Linked DNA regions of Homo sapiens: region 1 is linked to region 2. The links are contacts of gene promoters, found by promoter capture Hi-C in blood cells and fetal thymus (Javierre and others, 2016). All regions are on one chromosome and are shown on one strand. Each heading gives the region's core, a stretch centred on a gene start or on the middle of the fragment in contact. The rest is flanking DNA. Distances are from core to core; before and after follow the strand shown. Region 1 holds the start of SEPTIN7-DT (SEPTIN7 divergent transcript). Region 2 holds the start of ANLN (anillin, actin binding protein).

Evidence for each region. The method cuts DNA at HindIII sites, captures the fragments that hold promoters and counts their contacts. A CHiCAGO score of 5 or more calls a contact.
Region 1: the fragment with the promoter of SEPTIN7-DT here is called in contact with the fragment with the promoter of ANLN in region 2 in 1 of 17 cell types (fetal thymus); the score reaches 9.1 in fetal thymus.

What each region holds. Positions count from the first base shown.
Region 1 is chr7:35,798,937-35,805,182 of GRCh38, forward strand. SEPTIN7-DT (SEPTIN7 divergent transcript) reads right to left here and starts at 1,689. Exons shown (of 5, transcript NR_120512.1): 1 at 1,554-1,689. SEPTIN7 (septin 7) reads left to right here and starts at 2,121. Exons shown (of 14, transcript NM_001788.6): 1 at 2,121-2,334. The coding sequence starts at 2,274. RefSeq lists enhancers at 1,353-1,412, 1,535-2,158, 1,773-2,162 and silencers at 2,313-2,552, 2,583-3,032. The HindIII fragment of the contact is 5,766 bases long and covers 1-4,457 here.
Region 2 is chr7:36,384,837-36,391,535 of GRCh38, forward strand. It overlaps ANLN (anillin, actin binding protein), which reads left to right and starts at 5,026. Exons shown (of 24, transcript NM_018685.5): 1 at 5,026-5,208. The coding sequence starts at 5,191. It also overlaps a transcript of MATCAP2 not described here. RefSeq lists enhancers at 4,671-5,261, 5,262-5,852 and a silencer at 4,671-5,080. The HindIII fragment of the contact is 7,726 bases long and covers 1-6,699 here.

The DNA.
Region 1 (6,246 bases), core at 439-2,938, 590 kb before region 2:
GAGATGGGAGGCAAAGATTTACTTCCTTTAGACTATTAGGTTATATTAATATAAGTATTTGCTTTAATTTTATATTTTAAAATAATCTATATTTAGGTAATATTTACTAAGCATTGACTAAGCACCGTGTTCATGTATTAGTCTATTTAACTCTTATCAAAATCCTGTTAGATAAGTATTATCTCCGTTTATAGATGAGGAAACTGGATCACAGGAAAGTTTAAGTAACTTGTTCTTGGTTGCAAGCCTAATAAATGGAGAGCTGGGATTTGAACTCAGGCAGTCTGACTCCGGAGGCTATATACATTTACCCTCCTTGGTACACTGCTTTTTTTCAAAAATAGAAATTCAACAAAATTTCCCAAAGTAAAAGTTCATTTGAAGTTTCAGAAACTTAAAACAATGATTGAACAGATAAGTTGCAACAGACTTCATAAGCAGTTCAGTAAAAATGTAGACTTACGAAATGGCATATATCAAGATACAAAATAAGTTGCTTCTATAAGTTTCTTTTCTTAAAAAAAATTACTTGGAAATATTTCAAGTATATAGAACAGTAAAGGAAATAATTACAAGTGAACACCCATGTGCCCTCTACTTAGCTTAATGTTTTGCCACATTTTCAAGATATTTCTGGTAGAAAACAAACGTTATAGATACAAATGAACCCTTCTTGTTACATTCCCTTCTGTTCATCTCTGGAAGCAACCAGTATTCTGAATTTGGTATCTATCATTTCCTTATACAATTTTTAGTTTGATCTTACTTTTTTGTAATTATTAAACTTTTATTTATGGTATGTCATATATATCTTTCCGCAACCTGTCTTTTCATTTCTTCCTCAATATTAGGTTAATGACTCTATCCATATGAAAAATGGTAGCTTTAGTTCACTGATTTTTTGGTTCGTGTTGTATGTCAATTTGTTCAACAATGACACTTATTCATCCATTCTCCTATTAGTAGACATTTATTGTTTCACTAATATAAGCTATTTTGCTCTGAACTTTCTTGCACGTGCCTATAACTTAAAAATACACATACTTTTTTAAAACATGCAGTTAAACAGGAACATACACATTTCTTTAACATGTAGTTAAACAGGAAAAGTAACACATGTGCATGAAGAATACAACCAAGAGAGCCATCACGTTCAAGAAAAGACCACAGGTTATTCCGAGTGAAGTAAGGCTTTCACTAGAAGGCACTTGGGGAACGTTCCAATGACAGCGACATTCATCGCTACAGTAGAAACTCACACAATCGCAGCCCTTTATTAGTATTTTGTTACCCAGTAGTTCCTGTGTCCATTCATTTCCTCAACTGGAGTGTGAGCTCCAAGAGGACCGAACCGGGCACCGACAAGGTGAGCCAATATGAATGTGGCGAGTCCGCAATGGGGGCTACAGCGGCCGACCTCTGGGGCTGTGCCAGGCCACTAGAGTGTGATGGCGCGAGGGAAGGGTCGGGGAAACAGGGCCTAACCTCACTTTTCACCCCGAAAGTCAAGATAGCCACGGAAACAGGGATGAATGGGGAGCACAGACACCTGCCTCGAAGTGTCTCTTCACTTTCACTCACAAAGCCGTCGGGTCAGTAACCAGAAGCCGAGGGGCGGATGCGGCCCCCGCCCTGTGGCACTTTCTCAGTCTGGTTCTTCCAGCCGCGCCTCTTTGCCTTACGCCAATTCCGTAAGGAGGCGCTGAGGCCAACTGGCCGGCTCCCGCAGCTCCAAAACTTGACGTGAAATTGCGCGGGGCAGAGCTGACTGCGGCCATCTTTAATTCGGGCAAGACCCCACCCTCGCACCCCACCCACTAGTCCTTTTCAGCGTTCCCAGGATTTTCTCCAACAAATGTAACGCGGTTAACCTTAGAAGCAGTGTTGAAGAAACACGCAAAGAGGCCTGAGTATCCATGACCTCAGTGGTGCGAAACCCGGCCAACTTAAACATGGCGGCTAAACCCGAACAGCAAAACGTTGCTGACGCCAATGAAGTCATGCTCGAAATGGAGCGAGGCGGCGGAGCTGGGGAGGCGGTAATCTCGCGAGATGGAAGCCAGCCTCCGCTAGGCCCGGAAGCCTCGTCTGAGGGGGCGGGGGACGGAGGAGGGAGCGGGAGTCGAGCGAGAGCCTGTGGAGGAGTCCGCCTGCTGTAGCGTGCGTAAGCAAGGCAGCTACGCCGGGCGGCTACGCTGCGGAATCGGCGTAGGCGCCTTTGGAGAATCGGCGGGCTGCGCTCCGCTGGGGCTGGTCGCGGAGGGGGGGAGGGGATGTCGGTCAGTGCGAGATCCGCTGCTGCTGAGGAGAGGAGCGTCAACAGCAGCACCATGGGTGAGTCTCAGCTTCGGGTGCCGCGACTTGGGGTCAGCGGCTCCGAATGCCGGGAAGCTCTGCGGCCGCTGGACCGAGCTAGGGAACGCCCTGAGGCGAGGCGGAGGCAGCGGCGAGGGGAGCCGGGATGGGGGCCACTGCGGGCCCGGGGCGCGGCAGCGGCGGGCTCGGGGGGAGGGGAGGCGGCGGCGGTGACAGTTTGAATTGAACGTGAGGAGAGCCGAGGCGGCGGCATTTCCTGTGCCGCGGCGGGCTGGCCCCCGGCGCAGAGCCGCGGCCTCCGCGGCCGGAGCAGCCTGAGCGTGGTGGTCTCAGCCCTGCCCTTGCTTCTCTCCGTCCCTTCGCCTTTCCTCAGTCTCCTCCCGGGCCCGCCGGCTTCCGCGGCCCCGCTTCCTCCTGTCCCCGGCCGCATCCCCGTCGGCAGAAGTCCCCTCGTGGGGCAGTGGGCCTGGCTAGGAGGGTGGGGACGAGTGTGAACGCTCGGGCGAGGGTGCTGTGTGGGCCAACCCGGGCGGGCGGCGGCGGGGAGGGAGGAAGAAGGATGCACCAGGCTGAGGCTGTGGTGGAGGCGGCGGCGGCGGCTGCAGCCGCAGCTCCAGTCACCGCGTCGCCTCCCCGCTCCTCCTCCCGCCTCTCGGGGTTGCCTCTCTCCAGGCGCAGCCCGGAAGGCCGGTGGATGGCGGGCGAGTCTTGAGAACGGAGGGAGAATCGGTAGTTTGGTTTGGAATTTGGGCTTAATTTTTAGGAGTAAGGGAAAGAGAACGCCTGGGAAGGGCGCCCCCCGGAGGAGATAGAAAGGGTGGGAAGGGTCCTTGGAAAAGGGAGGGAGCGGAGATGTGGAGTGGCGAAGTTTAGGGAAATTAATTTTTGAAAATATTTCAATATTCTCAGTTATTCTCTTAACGAGCCCTTTCATTTCCTTTCCTCCCCCACATGTTGGAAAAAGAACAGGCCATTTCATTTACATTTTCCACTCCTGAGTTCCATTTCAGCTGTGTGTATAGTAAGAAATAAGCAACCGAGATTTTTCTAGGACATTTCCATTTGCTGAGTTACTTTTGAAGAGTACACTGTTTCAAATTTGGGTTTTTACAGTCCTAGGAAAGAATTTGTGACGTCCAGGTGTTTTCTTAGTTACTGAAATAATAACTTACTACATTTCTTGAGTTTATTGCTAAATAGTTCAGCTTTAAGAATTCTTTCTTCTGGCTTTTTTATTTTGATGAAAGGAAAAAATATCTTTGTTAGTGCCCCTGAGAATGTAAATGAACAGATCATCTAAATTACTAAGCATCTAACCTGTTTTACATATTTATGCACATGCAGGTGATGAGTATAGTCAGTTTTTCCCCCTAAAGTTTATGTGCAGACATGGGGAGGAGAGTATTTTAGACTTAAAAGTGTACAGGTAGGGATGAAATTTATGGAATCCTGATAGACTGAAGGGGGGATATAAACAATGACCAAGTCAGCTATTGCTGCTTGGATTCTTTATTTCTTCAGACTGCAAGGGAATGAGTAAGGGGTGGTTGGGTGGTGATGGGGGGGTGGTACGGTCGTGGCGGGAGAGCAGTAAACAATCTTTCATCTCATTCAGCTGTTCAGTGGGTGGGACTAAAGGAGATAAGAGTTGAGTGAAGCTATGAAATAAATGTGGAAGCTACATAGGTGATTTGCATGGTAGCATTGTCTTATTCTATGATGGGACAACATGATGGAACCAGGTCTTCATAACACAGTTATTAAAAATACATATTTTACCACATCTTAGGCTTACAGAATTCAAATTCACAACAAATAACAGAAATGTTAAGTTGATTTTAATTAGTTCTTATCCTTTAAAAAGAAAGGATATTGTCTTTTTCTAATGTAGCTTAACAATTTTTGTTGCAGGCTTTGGTTTGGAGATATTTGATGCATACATAATACATGAAAGGTAGTGTTAAAAGATTGTATTTCAGAAGTTTGTGATAAAATTGGTTGTTCAGATTTGCACATTGTCCCGTAGAAGTCATTTTAAGTAAATCCATGCCAGAACTTCTGAACAAGTCTGAGGCAAGTTAGGAATCCTTACAGAACCTAGGAGAATTTAGAGGAATATGCTAGGACAACAACAACAACAAAGCTTGGGGGAGAAGAGGGAGGAAGAAGAGTTACATCTATGGCTTCTAAGGTCTCAGTAATGGAGAGTGATCAGATGAGGGACCAGTCAGAATAAGGATAGTGGTAGAGCAGATTAGTTTCAGACTTTGTATAATTTGATGATATACATATTCATTGTAGACTGTATTCTGGGAATTGCCGATAGAGAATTCCTACCTGACTAAATTGCCTGCTGAGAAATGTGTTTCACATTTTGAATTAATAAGCTATCTTCAATTTTTGATTATAAGTTGAACATTTTAAACTAATGATTTATGTCTTTTACTAAGTTTTGAGACAAAACTTTTTGTATACTTCTTTTTTTGTACTAAGTTTGGACTGTAAAGATAAACTTTATTATACAATAGAAACTGAAGAAAAATTATGTTTTTAAGGAGCAGAATTGTAAGGTAGTTTGATTATGGGTTTAGTTCGCTATATGAGAGCATACTGTTAAATGTAGACCATTGAACTCTACAGCAGTGTTTTGAAGACTGCAGGTTGTGACCCATTAGTGGACATTGCACTTAATATTTTGAGGGAGATTAAATTTTCTTTCAGGTATTGTGTACTAGGTGGGGAAGTAATTTTTTTTAAGGATTGTGGTCAAAATGTACAGTATGGATGAGTCAAATCTAAGGTCTTCGAACCTTATGTTAGGGGTTGGAGGTCTTGGTGTGAGGAAGGAAGACTTTAAAATTAAAGACTGTTAAGTCCGTGTGGCTTTTTCTTACTTTGGATTCATTTATCCTGTACTCCATGTAGCTCGCATGGTTAGAGAGATCTGAGGCCTACTCCTATTTGAGAGGATGTTATCCCCCATAGCCAGAAACCAGGGTGGCTTCCAAAAGAAAAGGGTAGCATTCGGTGACTCTGCTTTAGGCCTTGAGGATGAATCTTTTCTTTGTTTTTGTCTTCCTGTGTCCTTTTGCATCATCAGAGATCTGGAGACTAAGCTTTGAGCATGGGCTTGGGGAAGAGGGGCCAAAGAGGCAGCTTGGCTGGCATTAAGTGTTGAAGGCCGTAGACCAGACACACACTAAATCCTTGTGACTTACACTTGGTGCAGTCCAGCTATCCAGATGTAGGGATTACACATTGGGGTTTGAGTTCAAAATCTTAATAATGATTTAGAACATGGGCTTTGATGTTAGATATGGATGCAAATCTTGGCTTTGCTACTCAATAGATACACCAGTCAGAGTAGGTTAGATTGTAATTTTAAAAACTACAGTTAGGCGTTGTTAACAATACGGTACATTGAGAAATCATAGAGTATTTTACCTACACAAACCTAGATGGTAGAGCCTACTATACACCTGGGCTATATCCTATTGCTTCTAGGCTATGAGCTTGTATAGCTTGTTATTGTACTGACTACTGTAAACAATTATGACAAATGGTAAGCGTGTTTCTTTTTTTGTTTTTTTTTTTTTTTTTTGAGACGTAATTTCGCTCTTGCTGCCCATGCTGGAGTGCAATGGTGCAATCTTGGCTCACCGCAACCTCTGTCTGCCTCCTGGGTTCAAGCAGTTCTCCTGTCTCAGCCTCGCGAGTAGCTGGGATTACAGGTGCTTGCCTGCCTCAGCCTCCCAAGTAGCTGGGGTTACAGGCACTCGCCACCACGCCCAGCTAATTTTTGTATTTTTAGTAGAGACGGGGTTTCACCATGTTGGCCAGGCTGGTCTGGAACTCCTGACCTCAAGTGATCCTCCTGCCTCGGCCTCCCAAAGTGCTGGGATTATAGATGTGAGCCATCACGCCCGGCCA
Region 2 (6,699 bases), core at 3,776-6,275:
AGGCCTGAAGCTGGAGCATAGTGAAAAGAAAAAAAAAAAAAGGAAAGTATTGTGATGTTAGGAGAATACTAGGTTATTCGGAGAGGCAGGTAGATTCCAGATCATGCATGGCCTTGTAGGTATGATAAGGATATTATTGGATATCATTTTAATTACAACGAAAGACATAGAGCAGCTCCAAACAAGGAATTGACACTGCAAAATTTACATTTGAAAAAGATCCCTCTCTATAAATAAATTACTAAAACTAAAAAGATCAGCAACAACAAAGATACGTAGGAATAAATTTAACAAAAGTTTACAGATCTTTATGTAAGTTTGTTATAGACATTTTTAGCAGGTATAATGAAGATATACCATGCTCATAAATGGGTAGCATTGCTGTCACAAAGATGCGAATTCTCTCCAAATTATGTGATAAATTCAGTGCAATTTGAATTAAAAATCAGAAGAGGATTTTCTTTTCTTTTCTTTTTGGATCTTGAGAATCTGACCCTAAAATTCATGTGGAAGAACAATGAGGCAAAATAATCCAAGTTGAATTGGAATTTGCCCTACCAGATATCAACATTTATAACTAATATAGTGTGATATTGGGAGAGGAATAGATAGACCAGTAGAACAGAATAGAGTCCGACATAGACCTATGTGTACATAAAAAGTTGAGGCTGAACATAGTGGCTTACACCTGTAATTCCAGCACTTTGGAAGGCCAAGGTGGGAGGATCATTTGAGGCCAGGAGTTGGAGACCAGCCTGGGCAACAAAGTGAGATCCTGTCTCTACAAAAAATTTTAAAAAGTAGCGGGTTGTGGTGGCATGCACCTGTTGTCCCAGATACTTGGAAGGCTGAGATGGGAAGATTGCTTGAGGCCAGGAATTTGAAGCTGCAGTGAGCTGTGATCGTGCCACTGCACTCCAGCCTGGGTGACAGAGCAAGACCCTATTTCAAAAAATAAAATAAAATAAAATAAAATAAAATAAAATAAAATAAAATAAAATAAAATAAAATAAAATAAGATAAAGAAAGAACTGTTGGGTAGGCGCAGTGGCTCATGCCTATAATCCCAGCACTTTGGGAGGTCTAGTTGGGTGGATCACTTGTGGCCAGGAATTCGAGACTAGCCTGGCCAACATGGGGAAACCCCAACTCTACTAAAAACACAAAAATTAGCCAGATTTGGTGGCATATGCCTGTTGTCCCAGCTACTTGGGAGGCTGAGGCAGGAGAATCGCTTGAACCCGGGAGGCAGAGGTTGTAGTCAGCCGAGATCAGGCCACTGCACTCCAGCCTTGGCGAAAGAGCGAGACCCTGTCTCGGGAAAAAAAAAAAGAAAAGTTGATATATGATAAAAGTGGCATTACAGGTCAATGAGAGAAAGGATGGACAATTTAATAACTGCTGCTAAGACAACTGGTTATCCATACAAAAAACAAGATCAATCCAGATAGTTTAAAGACAAAAGCATGAAAAGCCATACTTTAAAATATTTAGAAGAAAGTACAGCAGAACATCTTTATTATCTCAGGGTATGGAAGGATTTCTTAAGGCATAAAAAACACAAATCCTAAAGGAAAATATATATGGTATATGTGTATGTGTATGTGTGTATGTGTGTGTGTGTGTGTGTGTGTGTATCATTAGTTATATTAAACATTTCTGTACATCTGAAACATCATAAAGTAAAAAGACAAGCCACAAACCAAAAAATTGGCAAGCCGAAAAACCAACCAAGTTTATTTTCCCAGAAAATAGTAAACAACCAACAAAAACCCTATAAATCCATAAGAAAAAGGCAAATAATTGCACAGAAAAATGGGCAAGGATATAAAGTTGAAAATCACAGAAAAAGAAAATTGAAAGTCCAATAAATAAAAAATCATGTTCACCTTCACTAGTGATAAGAGAAAGGCACTCAAACAAGAATGGCAAAATTTAAAATGTATCCACATATTGGGGAGGAACTAGAGCAGCAGCCAGGGGCATATACTACTGACTGGAGTATCATTTGTTATGACCATTTTGAAGAGCAGTTTATTTTTAATATCTGGTAATAATATTCCTAGGTATATTGCTCTAGAGAAAGTTTTGCATGTGCATATAAAGGATAGTCATGGCATCATGGGGTCTTTGGAATGAAAAACTGGAAATAAGCTAAATGTCCATTAACAGGATAATGGGTACATAAATTACAAGTATATTTGTATAATAAAATTTAGCAGTGAACATGAATGAAATGCAGCTACAGTTATTAGTGAGGATAAATCCCATAAAGATATTATTGGGCCAGAAAAAGTTGCAGAAAGACTTACATTCTGCAAATAAAATTTATATATAAAACACTAGATATTGTTATGGATATATATGTAGATGTGATAAAAGTATACATATTTCTATGGGAATGATAAACATCAAATCAAGATAGTTTTACCCTGGAAGAGTGGGAAGATGAATGAGAATAGGAAGGGACACACAGGAGACTTCAATTACATGTGGGATGTTTTGTATTTTTTTAAGCTAGGTGGCTGGTATATGGTTATGTTTTATTATTCACATTTTTATTGTATTTCATAACATAATTTTTTTGTTTTCAAATTTTTTTATTTGTTATATAACACAATTTTTAAAAAGATAAAAGTCATTCTAGCCTAGAAACTGAAGAATGAACTACCGGGGGTTAAGAATGAAAGGAGGTATAGTAGGAGACAATTGTAATACCCTAGGAGAGTAGACTTGAATATCTACCGTAGTTTCTGGCACATAGTAGGTGTTTCAGTCTTAGGAGTTATTTAATTGTGATGGTTGCCATTATCACTATCATCATCATTATCAAGGTAGAAACCAAAGACATAGTGGGATGGTGAGGGAAGATACACTAAATGTTGTGAGTAGCTATCTTATGCTAGGTGCTTTACCTCTTTTAGTCTTAACTAGAATCTAGTTGAGGTAGATACAAAGAAACTAAGGCTCATAGAAGTGATAGCCAGAAGGCACAACGGCTACATAAATTTCTAATGACTCATTTTCCAACGTTGTTTAAAACACGCATACACACACAGACACGCCCCAAATACATACACACCTTTCTTGTCACACTTGAAAAAAATGGAAGTATCTTTTTCCTTTGTTCATAAGTAACACATTCTGGGTTAAATATTAATAATTCCATATACTACACACTCGGACAGTGTCTTATTACTTATTATGAAATATTTTTGGATTATGTCTCTCCATTTTTCATCTGCCCCTCCTAACAACTCTGAGGAAATCAGGGCAGATGATTATTCCTGTTACACAGATAAGTAAACTAAAATACAAACAGGCTAAATCAGAAGTTCTTGTCCTGGTGTCCATGAACTTCACAAAATCCTGTTAAATAGTTTATGATTAAATGGTCATTTTTCTAGGTAGAGGGTCAGTTTTAACATATTTCCAAAGGAGTCCATGACTCCCCACAAAGGTTAAAAAAAAAAAAAACCCATGGGTTAACCGATTTGGCTAACTGGGTGGAGCCCTGACCCCAAGCAATATTTCCCTTACCTCTTGCCGTGATTTCAGTCACGTACAATTTATCATACAAAAATTCAAATTAAAAATATTAGTAAATTCTTTTTGTAATGTTGATTGACTGCTAAGATGGACATATTATTAAACATATTGAAACCACTCAGTTGGGAGGAATAGTTCTGTTTTGTTCAGCTCATGGACAGTCACTCTTAACTTTTCAGATGAACAAATCAAGAACTGTCATCTTTACCTGCACAGACTTGTTATAGAAGAAATGAATCTGATACAGAAATTATGTAACCTATCTTACAATTTGGAGTACTCTACAAAGAATAAGCAGGAGACACAGCCTTAGCTAGTGTGGAAAACGGGTCATGAGCTGAGAACAGGGTTTTCATTTCTTTGGACCAGTTTCTTTAACGTTTTCGGGTGTCCCTTCTCTCGGCAGTAAAAGGAAGGATTGAACTAGATAGAGGGCTTGTCAGAATTCCTCCCGCTCTAACACTGTACACAGTTGGATGGAATTTAAAATAAAAAATTGTGCATGAACGCTTCACACAGTCTGTTAATTTTAGCTTTATTTCATTGGCTTAGAGTGTCGGGGACCCACCGGAACTGGCTTTTCTGAGGGCCAGGCCTGCAGTCCCCCTTTTGGGGACTAGGAGTTGGGTGTGACCTAGGAAACAAAGCTACTGAAGGCCAACGGGCTAGCAGCACCTGAAACACAAGGGCTCTTTGTCTGGCTCTGTAGCCCAGGCTGGAATGCAGTGGTGTGATCTCTGCTCACTGCAACCTCCACCTCCCGGGTCCCAGTTCAAGCAATTCTCCTGCCTCAGCCTCCCGAGTAGCTGGGATTAGAGGCACGCGCCACCATGCCTATCTAATTTTTTTGTATTTTTAGTAGAGACGGGGTTTCACCATGTTGGCAAGGCTGGTCTTGAACTCCTGACCTCGTGATCTGCCCGCCTCGGCCTCCCACAGTGCTGGGATTATGTCCTGCCAACACAAGGGCTCTTAATCCTTTTTTTTTCTTTTTTGAGGCAGGGTCTCACTCTGCCGCCCAGGCTGGAGTGCAGTAGTGAGATCGCAGCTCACTGCAGCCATGACCTCCTGGGCTCAAGCGATCCTCCAGCCTCAGCCTCCCCAAATGCTGGGATTATAAGCATGCGCCACTACTCCCGGCCTTAATACTTTATTTAGGAATGAAGGAAGGCGGGAACACCCAAACGCGGTTGGTGTGAAGCAATCGCCTTAAAGCTGAGGGGAATGTGTGGTTGTTGGGGGTGGAGCCAGGAACCCGACGCCGTTGGAGAGCAGGAAGCGCCCCGCTGCCCGCCTCCACCCCGCGGCGAGGGCTGGGAGGGGGCCGGGAAGGAGGCGGGGCCGCCCCTGGGAACCACCCGGCCCGGCGCGGCCACGTGACCGAGCGCAGGGGCGGGGAGAGGGCGCCCCGGCTCCGCCCAGCGCGCATGCTCGCGGCTCGGCGCTGAAATTCAAATTTGAACGGCTGCAGAGGCCGAGTCCGTCACTGGAAGCCGAGAGGAGAGGACAGCTGGTTGTGGGAGAGTTCCCCCGCCTCAGACTCCTGGTTTTTTCCAGGAGACACACTGAGCTGAGACTCACTTTTCTCTTCCTGAATTTGAACCACCGTTTCCATCGTCTCGTAGTCCGACGCCTGGGGCGATGGATCCGTTTACGGAGGTGAGTGAGTTTGCGGGTGCAGCCAGCCATGACCCACCGCTCTAGGCCCCCACCCACCTTCCTCTGTCAACCTCTGGGCGAACCCCCACCGGGCGGAGGGCGCGTGTGTGCGCGCGTGCGCAGTGTGTGCGGGCCGGGGTCGCCGCGGCTGCGGCCTGCTGTGGTTGGTGGGTTCCTCTGAGATTTTGTTGTTTCGGTCCTACAGATAAAACTCAGGGAGGAAGGCTTTGAGTCTGTCCTAAAAGGCTGTTGCGAGAGGTCTTTCAGCCCCCGTTTTTACCATGTCCCTCTGCAGTCCTGGCGCAGCAAGAGTGAGGCGCAGGCCTGCGGAACGGGTCCTGCTGGAAGCAGCTGGAATGCCCTGCAGGGCGGGGTCCGGGGCCGGTGACTCAGTGCGGCTGCCGCCGGGAAAGGCAGTAGGATGTGTGATTTGCGGAGTTCACGCAGCCCGCAGGGGAGATGCTAATGAAATGACAGCAAAACGTTAAAATAAGCAGGTGCTAGAAACCACTGCATTCGTTCATAAAAAGCCAGTAGTTCCTTGAGATCCCATTGTTCAGCTAACTAACGAAGAAGTTCATACCCGGGACTGACCATTTTAATTGAAACAATGCAAGTGTACCGAGCAAAACTATCAGCTCACGATTTTAGAGCAAAGAAATAAACTTTTCGGTGTTTCTGGGGCATATCATTACAGTACTTATTTCATCTTTTGTTCCTTTGAGATTGCATATGGGTTACATGGTTATTGTGTCGATTTCTCTAGTTTTAGCTTTTGTGGAGAATGTGCGTTGTCACATTCAGGAGTGTTTTGTTGCCAGTTGTCCACTCTCTTTTATTCCAGGACAGTTCCTCTTTCTTTAGGCTGTTGTGCAAATTTCAAACTGTTAGTTTTTGAGTGTTGCAAAGTGGACCTAAAACTGTTTACACTGATTCAAAAACTTAAATGCTGTGAAGAGTGGTAATTCTTTCGGGGAGATGTAATTATAATTCTATAAGTTATGTATGAGATATTAATTACAGATTTCAGCAATTAGAGTTTACTTATATTCAAGCATGACATAATCTATTTTTCTGTTTCAAATTCTTAATCATCTTGGGACAAATACATCAATTTTTTTCACCTTCCTTAAAGGTTCTAATAGAAAAATCTAGAGCCTATTTTTGTATTAGCCTTAAAATAGGGCTGGTCATGCACCAAGTATCTTTCACTTACACTGAGGTCGAAAAGCGTGTATTTATTTTATCTAAACTAGAATACGATTCCTTAAAACATTAGCCCTATGTGTCTTCCTAAGTAACAGACAGGAACAAAGCATTTTTAAGTTGGCTGAAAATTGCACTTCATTTTACTTAAAAATGTCATTCTGAAGGTAGTACAAATCTCAACTGAAAGAAACTTTACCTGTTTAGATCGTTTTAGGATGTGCTCAGAAATATGTATGGTTTATATTATGAAAAGTTAGATCACTTGCAGTTGGAAAAACAGCT